5 separate regions of the Homo sapiens genome follow, and regions 2, 3, 4 and 5 are each linked to region 1. Evidence: promoter capture Hi-C in 16 types of primary human blood cells and fetal thymus (Javierre and others, 2016). All regions are on one chromosome and are shown on one strand. Each heading gives the region's core, a stretch centred on a gene start or on the middle of the fragment in contact. The rest is flanking DNA. Distances are from core to core; before and after follow the strand shown. Region 1 holds the start of C18orf63 (chromosome 18 open reading frame 63). Region 2 overlaps CNDP2 (carnosine dipeptidase 2). Region 3 has its middle 19 kb from the start of CNDP2. Region 4 has its middle 20 kb from the start of TIMM21. Region 5 holds the start of DIPK1C (divergent protein kinase domain 1C).

What was found. Contacts are between HindIII fragments. The CHiCAGO score rates a contact against its expected background, and 5 or more counts as called.
Region 2: a contact is called between a fragment that was not itself captured here and the fragment with the promoter of C18orf63 in region 1, in 3 of 17 cell types (naive CD8 T cells, naive CD4 T cells and total CD8 T cells). The highest score is 6.7, in naive CD8 T cells.
Region 3: a fragment that was not itself captured here is called in contact with the fragment with the promoter of C18orf63 in region 1 in 6 of 17 cell types (non-activated CD4 T cells, naive CD4 T cells, total CD8 T cells and 3 more); the score reaches 6.1 in non-activated CD4 T cells.
Region 4: a fragment that was not itself captured here is called in contact with the fragment with the promoter of C18orf63 in region 1 in 1 of 17 cell types (M2 macrophages); the score reaches 5.2 in M2 macrophages.
Region 5: a contact is called between the fragment with the promoter of DIPK1C here and the fragment with the promoter of C18orf63 in region 1, in 8 of 17 cell types (total CD4 T cells, naive CD4 T cells, non-activated CD4 T cells and 5 more). The highest score is 8.6, in total CD4 T cells.

What each region holds. Positions count from the first base shown.
Region 1 is chr18:74,314,580-74,317,097 of GRCh38, reverse strand. It overlaps C18orf63 (chromosome 18 open reading frame 63), which reads right to left and starts at 1,259. Exons shown (of 14, transcript NM_001174123.2): 1 at 989-1,259. RefSeq lists an enhancer at 882-1,051. The HindIII fragment of the contact is 4,843 bases long and covers 1-2,518 here.
Region 2 is chr18:74,504,098-74,506,615 of GRCh38, reverse strand. It overlaps CNDP2 (carnosine dipeptidase 2), which reads right to left. Exons shown (of 12, transcript NM_018235.3): 4 at 605-767. Among named protein-coding and RNA genes, the nearest start is that of CNDP2, 9.0 kb to the right of the region's middle. The HindIII fragment of the contact is 5,160 bases long and covers 1-2,518 here.
Region 3 is chr18:74,476,555-74,479,072 of GRCh38, reverse strand. No RefSeq gene overlaps it. Among named protein-coding and RNA genes, the nearest start is that of CNDP2, 19 kb to the left of the region's middle. The HindIII fragment of the contact is 1,886 bases long and covers 313-2,198 here.
Region 4 is chr18:74,167,019-74,169,536 of GRCh38, reverse strand. No RefSeq gene overlaps it. Among named protein-coding and RNA genes, the nearest start is that of TIMM21, 20 kb to the right of the region's middle. The HindIII fragment of the contact is 4,386 bases long and covers 1-2,518 here.
Region 5 is chr18:74,456,048-74,458,565 of GRCh38, reverse strand. DIPK1C (divergent protein kinase domain 1C) reads left to right here and starts at 1,258. Exons shown (of 4, transcript NM_001044369.3): 1 at 1,258-1,504. The coding sequence starts at 1,307. The HindIII fragment of the contact is 3,923 bases long and covers 278-2,518 here.

The DNA.
Region 1 (2,518 bases), core at 10-2,509:
TACTGGCCCGGGAATGTGCAGTGTGACCAGCCTTCTGATCACAGTACTGAAATGAGTTTGTGGTGTCATCTGAGGAATGCTGGCAATGCCAGCAGGAATGTAATACAGTAGGAATGTAAATTCCAGGTCACCAAAAAATTCCTGGGTGCAAGTCCTCCCGTTTTGCCAATCTTCAAATACTCACGGATTGCAACACTGTATGTAAACAAGAGTGATCTGTTCAGGGATAAGCATGAATTTATTAGAATTATTACTATTGTTTAATTTTGTGAGTTCCTAGTTGGCAAAACTTGCAGATTCAAAAAGAATGTTGTTTTCTTTGGCTAGGCTGTAGAACTATATTGTGAAGCTCAAAACGTGGGCCAAGCCTTATTATGATCTACGGATGCGCTATTAACATCCTGTCCAGGGAGTCGCTCCACTACGTTTCTGTCCCAGGATTTCATCTTTATTCCCAATCCCCAGCAGGGCAAGGAACAAGTGCTAGGAGCAGGCAACAGGCACCTACGCAATTCTACACGTGAGGGAGGACTCAGAGAACCCCAAAGGACCAAAACTCTGGGAGCGCCCAGCTCCTGCAGTGCTGTGCGCTAAGCCTCGGGACCGCCGCTACGAGGGACCCTTCCTAAAAATCCTCCCGGGGCGCGGGGTTCAGGGCGGCCCCAGACCCGGCTTGCCGCTGCCCCCAGGCGAGCGCCCACCCCTCTTCCGGCCTGGCTTCTGTGAGAACAGTAATGGACGTGAGTGGAAACGAATCTAAGGTCTTTGTTCAGCTAAATCCATTTTAAAAGGTGATTCTATAAATTTCCGATATAATGAAATGCCCGAAAAATTGGGACTCATGGGTCTTTGCAGATGAATACATTTTTTTCCTGACCCAAACCAACGTCCTCAGGGTGCCGGCGCCGGCACCGGGATCCTGCCCTCATGGCGGCCCTGACCTGCTCCTCCGCAACCGTGGGGAAGAGAATCAGGAAAATGGTCTTACAAACTGGAAAAGCAACACTTCTAACGCCCACGGCCTCCTGCACTGCAGATGCGTCAGGCGTCTCCTCAGGGGGAGGAAAGGGCGGGTGGGCGGCAGGGCCTCCAGCAGTCTCCCTCGCTTCCGCTCTGCCTCCTTCAAGCAGCTGCCCCCCAAGGCCAGGCCTCTTGGTCTCTGTGGGGCGTCGATTGAGAGCCCGCGTGCCTCAGCTCCCTCCTCGCTGCCCTCAGGAGACGCTCCCGGCTCGCCCCGCGTGCCCTGCCTTCATCGGAGTGTCCCCTCGTGCCCTCCTCACAGCCCTCGGGAGCCAATCCCAGTATTTCCCGCGCTCTCCCAGCGTTCCCTGCGCTCTCCCAGCATGCCCTGCAAGCCTTGCGCTCCTGGCACGCAATGTAGGTCAACTTTTCCCGCCAAGGCAGGAACCGACCAAAGCTGGTCACGGATGACCCAGTGAAGCCCTGTGAGATTCTCTCAGCCTGAGCTGGTGTGGGTGGGGCCGGGACACAAGGTTCTGGCCGCCCTCGAAGGCGGGAAAGCTGGGTCAGCGCAACACGTCCAACGGGGAGCTCCGGCGCTGAAGCCCCGGCTAACTGCGTGCTGCACAGGGGCTACCCAGCCTCTTGCCTCGGCACGTTTCTCCTCAGATTCTCATGCCCGAATTTACAGCTTCTGCAGTTCCTTTAGTGGTGGGAATCTCCATGACTGGAACATCTTCATGCCTGGTGTGGAGGGGAAGCGTGGTGCAAGCTCGTGGGAGTAAATCCACGAAGCGCCTACTGTGTGCAGATGCGTTTCTAAGGTCTGCTGATAGAGCACTAAGCAAACAGCATTCCCGGTCCTTGTGGGATGCACATTTTACTTGGTAGTTGGGGGAAAACAGATACGCAAGATAAATGTGCAAAATCTTAGTGTGGCAGATGGTGATAGGTGCATTGGAGAAAAATTAAGTAGGGTAGGGAGGCGGGGAGTGCCGAGGAGAAGTCGTTAGGTTTAATAGCGTGGTCAGGAAGGCCTCGTGGAGAACGGGACGTTTGAGAAAGACATGAAGGCGGTGAGAGTGGGCAGCCTCGTGCATGTCTCGGGGGAGAATGTTTGTTACGAGAGAGGGAATCCTACAAAAGGCCAGGGCAGGAGGGACGCCAGCTGGCTGCAGTAGAGCAGGAAAGAAGTGGCTCCGTGAGGCAGGAGGAGTTACAGAGAGCCAGACAGGGTTAGGCCCGATAAGCCATGGAAGTATTAAAGGTGCATCCAGCCTGCTGTGCTGGAATGGACTGAAGGGGACAGGGAAAGGAAGAAAAGCAGTTAGGAGGCAATGGCAATAAGGAGAGAGGTGGCTTGGATCAGAGCAGTGGCAGTGGAGGGAATGGGATGGGATGGGATTGGATTCTGGATATATTTTGAAATTAGATTTAATAGGATTTGGATATGGATTGATGTGGGATCTGAGAGAGAGGGAGAGGAATCAAGCATCACTCCAAGGTTTTTATACTAAGAATTCAGAAGGATTGGGTTGCCATTAATTACAAAGGGGAA
Region 2 (2,518 bases), core at 10-2,509, 190 kb before region 1:
GAAGGCCCTGCCTGGATTCCAAATGTGCATTCTGAGAAAAAGCATCAGCAGTAGAGGAAGCCTGGCAGACGCCAGCCACGGGGGGCTCATTTGCACAGGAAAAGGCAGGCTTTCTGGAAGTTCAGCAACAGAGGCACCTGTAAGAAACCTCCATTTCTAGCTTACGTTAAAAACAGTCTGTGCCCGGCGTGGTGGCTCAAGCCTGTAATCCCAGCACTTTGGGAGGCTGAGGTGGGGGGGATCACTTGAGGTCAGGAGATCAAGACCAGCCTGGCCAGCATGGTGAAACCCCGTCTCTACTAAAAATAAAAAAACTAGCCAGGCGTGGTGATGGGCGCCCGTAATCCCAGCTACTGGGGAGGCTGAGGCAGGAGAATCGCTTGAACCCCGGGAGGCGGAGGTTGCAGTGAATTGAGATCTTGCCATTGCCCTCCAGCCTGAGCTACAGAGTGAGACTCTGTCTCAAAAAAAGATTTTTAAAAAGTAATAAAATAAATAAAATAAAATAAAAACAGTCTGTACTGGAAACAGAAAAACGGACTAGCAATGACTTTCCAAAAGTCAGTGCCTTTCCTCTGGGCACGCATAGGCGCGCGGCGCTCACCGTCTCGCTCCACCAGGGTGAAGGGCTCGCTGTCCCAGCCGTCCTCCAGGGCTGCAGGCTGCACATCCAGGTGCCCGTAAATGCACACGGTCTTCTTCTGTGGGTCGGAGCCCAGCCTGCCGAGCAGAATAGGAGGGAGCGGGATCTCCGAGCCATCAGGGAGCTGAGCATGGAGAGGAAAGGAACCAAGGACAGCCTTTGTTTAAGAAATTCAGTGCTTAAGGTGGAGATTATTAAAAGACCTTGAGCTTCCTTATCTGTCCTTATCAATCAACCTCTATTGTAGAGTTTAAGAGCACACTGTTCAATGGAGTCACTAATTAAGATTTACTTTCTTACTTTCTTGTACTCCAGAGCACATGTACATGTTTGCCAATTGCAGGCAGTTTGGTAAATTTTTTTTTTTTTTTTTTGAGACAGAATCTTGCTCTGTCACCCAGGCTGGAGCGCAGTGGCGTGATCCCAGCTCATTGCAACCTCTGCCTCCCAGGCTCAAGCGATTCTTAGGTCTCAACCGCCCAAGTAGCTGGGATTACAGGTGCCGGCCACCATGCCTGGTTAATTTTTTGTATTTTAGTAGAGACAGGGTTTCACTGTTGCCCGCACGGTGGTCTCGAATTCCTGAGTTCAGGCAAACCACCCACCTCGGCTTTCCAAAGTGCTAGAATTACAAGCATGAGCCACTGCACCTGGCTGGATTTGGTAAATTCTTAAAGGCTGGTTTTTCTTTGACTTTTATATAACAAAACACGCAGGCTGAGTTCGGGATGCAACTTAGTTTATTATTTTCTGAAATGATGGTTAAAATAAACTATAATCTTAAATCAGAAGAGGTATTTTTGAAATTCTGTACATTGATTACAATTATGCATGGAAAATGCCATAAACCAAGATATATATAAAAAAATCTTTATACCTAAATTCACATTTAGCCATTCTAAAAAGTTAGTGATAGCAGGTACGCCTTCTGAGCTTTGTCCCAGAAGCACTACCAATATTCCACAATCCCATAGGAATGGAGAATGGGACAGGCATCCCAGCCCACCCCTGCATCTAAATGGAGGCAAATCAATCTTAGGTCTTTTCCAGTTTTCACATCAGGTCAGTGGTCTCCACCTTTTACTTTAGACTATGGCCTACTCAGGCTGTGCAAAACTCCTGTGGCCATGTAGCTCCTCTACCAGTGCCTATATTCCAATAGGAAAATACCCCATGATCATCACAAAGTGTCACAAGCAAGTGGCAGGAGATGCTTTTAGCTGTAGGAGGAAGAGACTGTTCATACTAAAACATGACATACATATATATTAGTCTAGTTGCTAGAAAATACTGTTCATGAAAATAGGTATTAACAGACACAACGCAAAAACTAAATTGATAATGAAGTTAAATTAACAGTTTGCAATTAAGAGGTAAAATGAGCAGTCACTGAAATGACAACTGGATCAGGACAGTGCTGGTGATAGGCTGAGAAAAGTGTCCCTTCCAAACTGCAGGGCCTCCAGCTCTAAGTGTACAAGCACTTTACGAAACTGGGCAGGTGGCTGGGATTCTTATGGGATCCAGGATTTGTGTTCCCAGTAATTTAAGTAACCCCTGCAACCTGAAGGCTGCTAGTGTGCTGCGTGTGGCCTGACGCCCCTCATTTGTCCCAGCGGCAGTGTGGCTGCGTGTGCAGTGTATGGCCTGACGCCCCTCATTTGTCCCAGTGGCAGTGTGGCTGCGTGTGCAGTGTATGGCCTGACGCCCATCATTTGTCCCAGCGGCACTGTGGCTGCGTGTGTGGCGTGTGGCCTGACGCCCCTCATTTGTCCCAGTGGCAGTGTGGCTGCGTGTGCAGTGTATGGCCTGACGCCCCTCATTTGTCCCAGCGGCAGTGTGGCTGCGTGTGTGGCGTGTGGCCTGACGCCCCTC
Region 3 (2,518 bases), core at 6-2,505, 160 kb before region 1:
CCTTGGGCTAATTAAGGAGGGTGGAGCTGCTCAGAACCATCAGGCAAAGACAGCTAAGGCACCTGGGTCCCAGCTGCTGCAGCAAATCACTGCCCAGGATATCACATGGGCCCCATTCTGGAGGCTTCTGCCATCTCCTGATTCAAGTCATGATATCTATTTCCAAAAACCGTTTAGCTCTTCGTTGTACTTAATTTGACAAAATAAAATTTAAGAAACCATCTGCGTCAGCAGTTCCACTACCGCTTTTAGCTTAGGATATTGATAACCTTCGAGAATTATCTCGGTCCATGGACAATCTCTTGGGAAGCTTTAAAGAGTACAGCCATATCCCCAGTGCCCCAGAAAGTCTAGGTGACTGGTCTGTGGTGCAGCAAGAGTGTCAAGATGCTCAAGCCGCTGGGGTGTCTCCAAGCCCGGTAGGTCTGAAATCCAGGCCTGCTTTCTGGAGCATGGTGGGCCATTAGGACGGGATGTCTGGGAAGAAGCTAGGGAACTTTCTGTGCACTCAGGGTAATGGGTCATGGGGTTCTGGGCCCATGAAGGAGCCAGGGAGGCAGCTGGGGCATGGGCGGTGGGGTTTCTTCTCCCCATCACTCCTCCTTTGCGGTGTGTTTATGAGATGTGTAAGGAAGGTTTTCCTTCTTTTAGAACTGCGGGTCCAGTGAGGCCTTGGAGTTGGGAGTTGGGTCAAGGGGCAGGAGCAGGCGGGGGCAGAAGTGGTGGGGGGAGGAGTGGGTGGGGGCAGGAGCAGGTGGGGGCAGGAGCAGGAAGGGCTGAGGCTGCAGGCAGGGCTGGGGGCCTGTGGCCAGGGGTGTGAGGACCAGGCCCAGGCAGAATTCGCTTGACCACAAGGGCGCTGCTCTGGGATGCAGTGTGGCCCCAGGCTAGGGAGGCAGCCCCTCTCCTACTTGCATCCCAGGCCAGCAGCACTCTGATGTTGCAGGGCTGTAAGCATAGGGAGCACCCAACTCAGCCTAGAGGGGATGGTGGTGCCCTCAGGTGCTGGAGCTGACAGGAGGGCCAGGAGACCTGGGGTCAGTGTGAGGCCCTGAGCCACCCCATTGGAGACACAGAACTATGGGGGACTTATGGGATGGGCAAATGTATAATGTTAAGCCGACTGGAGTGCTGCGTGGCTAGAACGTGGGCGTAGAGAGGAACTGTGTCATTACTTCTTAGTCACTGTCGGCTAAGACTGGAAACATATGGGTAACTGCTAGAGTCTGAACGTATGTATCCTCCCAAAATTCATACGGCGAAGCCTAAATCCCCAATGTGATGGTATTTGGAGGTGGAATCTTTGGGAGGTACTTAGGTTGTGAAGGTGGAGCTCTTAGGAAGGGAATTAGTGTCCCTATAAGGGGATGAAGAGATCAGAGCGCTCTCTCTTCACCAGGTGAAGATACAACAAGAAGGCGGCCATCCATAAAACAGGAAAAGAGTCCCCACCAGAGCCAGGCCACGCTGGCACCCTGATCTCAGACTTCCAGTCCCCAGAACTTTCAGAAATTAATGTTTGTTGTTTAAGCCACCTAGTTTGTGGCATTCTTTTAGAGCAGCCTGAACTACGGCAGAAATATTAACATAAACTTATCTTGCAATTTGGTGGCTTAAAAATTCCCTCAGTACAACTGAAGAGAAGTTCCCAATTAAAGATTTTACTGAACAGACGGGCTCAGTTGTTAAATGCTGCTGGGAACCCTGAATAAAGTTTTATTTCTCTTTAAAACACATGTTTCCTATTGGATGAACATGGGCAAGAAAAATTAAGTCATGAATTCAGGCAGGTAACCTGGTCATGGATTATTATTCAGGGTTTCAAGCTGTGAACAGTTGTTGTCACTCACAATTCAGGTGTCACTTTTCACTGTGCTTCTGAAAAGAAAAACAAATGAATCAGAGCTTGGCTTTATGGGCATGAGGAACTCATCCTTAAATTAGCCCACAGTGGGATTTCAGCTGAATGTTGGAAGTGTTCCAGTCTCGCCTTTAAGTCTGCTGAAAATCCACAGGAGATACTGGAAAATCCATTTGCATTTAGCACCTGTGTTTGCCTCATAACTGTATATTATTATGCTCTCTAGATGTTGAAAGTGCCTGGAGAACTTTCCTTCCTCTGGGCAAATAAAAGGCAAATAAAAGTTGTGTATACCGTATTAGCTTCCTGTAGCTACTGTAACAAATTAACATAAGCTTAGTGACTGAAAACAGGAGGAATTCATTCTCTTACAGATCTTCAGGTCAGAAGCCTAAAATCCAGGTATTGGCAGGGCTGGTTCTTTCCTGAGGCTTCAGGGGAGGATCCATGTCCTTGCTTCTTCCGGCTTCTGAAGGCCACCGCGATTCCTGGGCCTGTGGCCCCTCCTTCCATCTTCAAAGTGCATCACCCAACCCCTGGCTGCATCCTCACACCTACTTTTTCTGACTTTGACCTTTTGGCCTCCCTTTATTCTAAGGGATCTTCTGATTACAGTATTGGGTCCACCCAGATGATCCAGGATAGTCTCCCATCTCA
Region 4 (2,518 bases), core at 8-2,507, 150 kb after region 1:
AATTTGGTAGCTTTCTCAGTCACTTTTTGAATAATGCATTGCTTGGGTATTAGAACTATAGGTACTTATAAGGTTTAGATTTAACACATTTTTTTTTTTCTGAGAACTTATTAACATCCAAATACTGTAGTAACTGGAGATACAGGAATTAAAATGATGCCTTCTCTATGTACAATGTAAAAGGAAGGCAAGAAACATACCGACAGTTGCGGGGTAACCATGTGCCAGCTACTGCTGAAGCCCCTTCCCTATGGCCTCATATGGTCCTTACAAAATCCCTAAGAAGTAGGTATTATTGTCCTCATTTAAGAGATGGGGAAACTGAAATGTAGGCAGGTAAAAAAACAAAAAAAACATGAAAGGCAACATTAGGTGATGTGTAAACACTCAGGATTTGAAAATCAGACATCCCTGGTTCCAGGCGTGTATGGTAAGATGACCTCGGGCCACACACTGCTGTAGCAGATGCTTTTGGTGGCCTCCTGAGGGGTGGTCTCCCACAAGGTGGGTTCACATTTCAATCTGGGAACCTGCGGATATTATCTTCTATGGTAAAATATGTGCTTAAGTTAAGGATTTTGAGAGGATGCATTAGTCCTGGGTTATAGGGGTGGGCCCTAAATTCAAGGGCATGTATTTTTGTAAGACAGACACAGAAGAGAAGACAAGTGCAGAGGAGATTATGATGTAAAGATGGAGGCAGAGACGGGGGTGATGTGGCCACAAGCCTCGGAATGCCGATAATTTTTAGAAAATTTGATTATCATTCCTATAGACATATTACTTCCCCAATTTTTTAATAAATTAAATAGAGAGACCATAGAAAATCCCGAAAGGGCTTCCCATGGATGTTGATGAAAATAATGCTAAATATTATGTTAAAGTAAAGAGCTAACATTAGCTAGAGTATTTCTGAATAAGAAGAGTAGGGAGAGTGACTTTCTCTTACTAGGTATCAGCATCTACTATGAAGCTATGTAGTAAATAGATAAGTGCAGTATTGGTATTAGCAAAAATTAACCAATAGAATGAAAGAGAGCCAAAAAATAGACCTGTACACATATGGGATTTCGGTGTATGACAGACGTAGATGTCAGTTCAGTAAATGGAGCTGGAATGCATGGTCATCCATACGGAAAACATAAAGTTGGATCACTACTTCATACTCTTAAAATAAAAATAATCAACTCCAGATGAATTAATGACTTAATATCAAAAACAAAACTTAAAATGGTTAATAGACAATGGAGATGAATATCCTTTCAATCTTGGTTTAGACTCCTTACACAAAAACTTGAGAAAGAGTACCTACATAAGACACAGTACCTTTTTACTTTAAAAGAAAAGATACACTTGATCTTGACTTTATTATCGTTAAAAACATTTGATCATCCAAAGATATCATATATAAAGCAAAATAGCAAGTTTAAAACTTGGAGATAGTCTTTTATGCACACAACCAATGGAATATTACTATCAAATATATAAAAACCTTCTTACAAATTAATAAGAAAATAGAGGCCAGGCATGGTGGCTCATGCCTGTAATTCCAACACTTTGGGAGGCCAAGGCAGGTGGATCACTTGAGGTCAGGAGTTTGAGACCAGCCTGGCTAATATGGTGAAACCCTGTCTCTACTAAAAATACAAAAATTATCAGGGAGTGGTAGTGGGCACCTGTAATCCCAGCTACTTGGGAGGCAGAGGCAGGAGAATCGTTTGAGCCTGGGAGGAGGAGGTTGTAGTGAGCCCAGATCATGCCACTGCACCTCCAGCCTGGGCAACAGAGTGAGACTTGGTCTCAAAAAAACAAAAACAAACAAATAAACAAACACAAAGAAAACAGAAAAATACCAATAAAAGCACATGCAAAAGACATGAACAGGCATTTGTCCAGAAGAAGGAACACGTAAACCACATAAAAATGTTCATTAATGATTAGTGAATGGGAGTCAAGACCACCAAGAGACCCCTTTTACACCATGTGGCTGGCAAATATGAACAAGACTGACAGTCACAGGGTAGGGCAGGATGCGACGCCACAGGGTTTCTTACAATGCACGGCTGGAAGTCACGCTGCTACAATCACTTACAACTTCTTAAAGTTAGCTGCCATAACAGAATACCACTGGCTTGGGGGATTAAACAACAGACGTTTATTTTCCCACAGTCCTGGAGGCTGAAAGTCCAAGATCAAGGTGTCAGCAGGGTGGGTTTCTCCTGAGATCTCTCCTCGGCTTGCAGATGTCCACCTTCTTGCAGTGTCCTCACATGCTACTTCCTCTGTGCAAATGCCTCCCTGGTGTCTCTGTGTGCCCAGATTTCCTTTCATTATAAGGACAAATCAAATTGGATGAGGGCCCTCCACCCTCATTATAACTTAATCACCCCTTTAAAAGCCCTATCCTCAAATTCAGCTACATTCAGAGGTGCTGGGGTTGGGAGGTTTCATCACAGGGGTTTTGGAGGCCAGAGGGAGACATAGTTCAGTCTGTAACAGGAGGCATCAGCCTCTGCTA
Region 5 (2,518 bases), core at 9-2,508, 140 kb before region 1:
CCGAAGTGCTTCTTGGGGCTCAGGGTTTGTTCATCTGATGTTTGGTCATTCCTGGGGACTCCTACCACCGAGCCAGCCATAAAACAAAGTTAAAGCAGCGAGTTGCAGAAGAGACAAGGGCAAGAAGCCAGCTCCTGTGGGACAATCACAGCACGCAGTGATCAGGGCATGTTTCTATTATCTCTAAACTCGGGAACGGGTCATGTGAAATTCAGGCGCAGGGCAGGCGGGAGAGCGATCCGGGATGGGCTGGCACGTACTGGGCACTGAATAAGCTTTTGTTCAGTGAATGCAGGAGCCCCGGGCGTGGCGGCTTTCACAGCCCCTCAGCTGTGACAGTTCCCCTGGGGTGGCGCCGCCTCCCCCTATCCTGGGGAAAGGCGTTCAGGGAGTGAGAAGCATCCCTGGGTGGGGTGGGGGATGCTGGTGAGAACCAGGGACGCCCTGTGGGCCCAGGGCCAGCCTGCTTTACAGAACAATTGGGATGGGAACACGGATGCCTGCTCTCCCAGATGATACTGCGAATCTATAAATATAGACTTAGACACACGTGGTGGACGTGTTCTCCTCCCCGGGGTAACGGAGATGTTTCCAGAGAGCAGATCTTTGCAGCCCTGAGAAGGACGCCCGAGAGTTTGTGCAGCCTGGGAGACGGCGGGGGGTTTGATTCAGGGGTGCCCGTGGGAAGGGGAGGGCTGGGTCGTCCCAGAACCTACTGACTGTCCTCGACCCCCGACTCTCTGCATGCTCCGGATCTCACTCCCGGGAGGGCCCGGAGAAAACCCAAGTTGGGGTGAGACTCAGAGGGGGGCGGTTCTAGTGGAGAGGTAAACGGGGGGGGACAACGCTGCAGCCCCCTGGGGCGAGGGTGCGCTCTACAGAGCGCTGGGGGCAAGGGCACCTGGCCTCTCAGAGAAGTTGGTGGGGGAGGGCAATGTGACAATTAAAGATATGTAGTCTTGAGGAATCAGTCCCCAAAGAGAGAGGCGATTGAATCTACCCGGATTTCGTTTAAGTGGGGAGCTGGTCTTCTTGGGGGAAAAAAGTGCAAAAAGAAAAGTAGAGAGGGTGGAGCAGGGGATGCGGCGAGTGGACCCCCAGTGGGTGCTCGGGGCGCGCGGGGTGTTGCTGCTGCTGGACGCCCTCCCCGCACCTCCGCCCCAGGCGCGGGGCCTGCCCCAACCCTCGCGCGGCCCCTCCCCCGTTCCCCCTCCCCGCCGAGCGGGCCTGAGCCGCGGAGCAGCTACGCGAGTGCGGAACTCGGGGCGCGGGCGGCGGTGGGGCCCGGGCGCGGGCAGGGCTGGCCATGGCGCGGGCGGCGGGCGCGCGGGGCCCTGCCGGGTGGTGCAGGAGGCGCGGGCGCTGCGGGCGGGGCACGCTCCTCGCCTTCGCCGCGTGGACCGCGGGCTGGGTGCTGGCGGCCGCGCTGCTGCTCCGCGCGCACCCGGGTGTCCTCTCCGAGCGCTGCACCGACGAGAAGAGCCGGCGCATCCTGGCCGCGCTGGTAGGTCCCGCCGCCGCTCTGCCCCGCGCCGCGCGTCCGGGGAGGGGGGATCACACCCGCTCCCGGTCCCCAGCCTTCCCGGGGACTTGGGTGGCGGTGGCACCCGCCGGGGACATGGGTTCCCGACACCTGCGTGGAGTGCCAGAGGCGCACGCCCCGGTCCCCCGAATGGGGACGCAGCCGGCAGTGCTCTGTGGGCGCGCTGGGGGTGTCTCTCCCCTTTTCGCCAGAATTCGCCCTTTGTCCCCAGACAGCCTCTCCGTCCTACCCTCGCCACCCCTGAGCCCGAGCTCCGGAAGAAAGTTTGCGGGTCTGATCCGAGTGTCCAGGGAGGTGCCGCGTCCGGTGTCAGGCCGCCGGGCTCGGGGCGCAAGCCAGTGCGGGGTTCGGGATCCGGGGTGCCACGCCTCTGTCTCTCGGGTCCGCAGCGCTCCAGCCCAGCCCGCGTTCTGTGATTCCACCCTGAGCTGCCAGGTCACCCCCTATCTCACCGAGCCCATGCGGAGGGCTGGTCTGACCCCGGCCCCCCTGCGCTCCAGAGCCCAGGCTCTCCGCGGTCGCGGTCTGTGGGAACCGACGCAGTGTGCGCTCGGGCGAGCAGAGAGCGCTGCGGAGGCGGCTGGGACCGGGAGGATCCCGGGTCCCGGTCCTCGACAGGCGCCTCCTAACCTGGGAGGGCCCGAAAGCTCGCACCCAGCAGCTCCTCAGCTGAGCCAGAGAATTAGGGAGAGAAAGAAACATTTCGCATTTTGCAGACTGCTGCGTACGCTGGGCTCACATCATATGAATGAAACGCCCACCTTTAGTTGATTGGAAACTTGGCTAGCCGTTCTTTCAGGCGCAAAGGAGACTTCAGTAAAGGTGGGAGTCCCCTAAATCCCAGAAAGGGGAAGATAGTAGCAGCTACTCTTACATGACTTCTTAAGCGATTATTCATTTCCTAAAATAGTGACCATCTAAGCATTTGGTTTGAAAAGAGATCTATTTTCTAAAAAATCTTCAAGAAACACATGG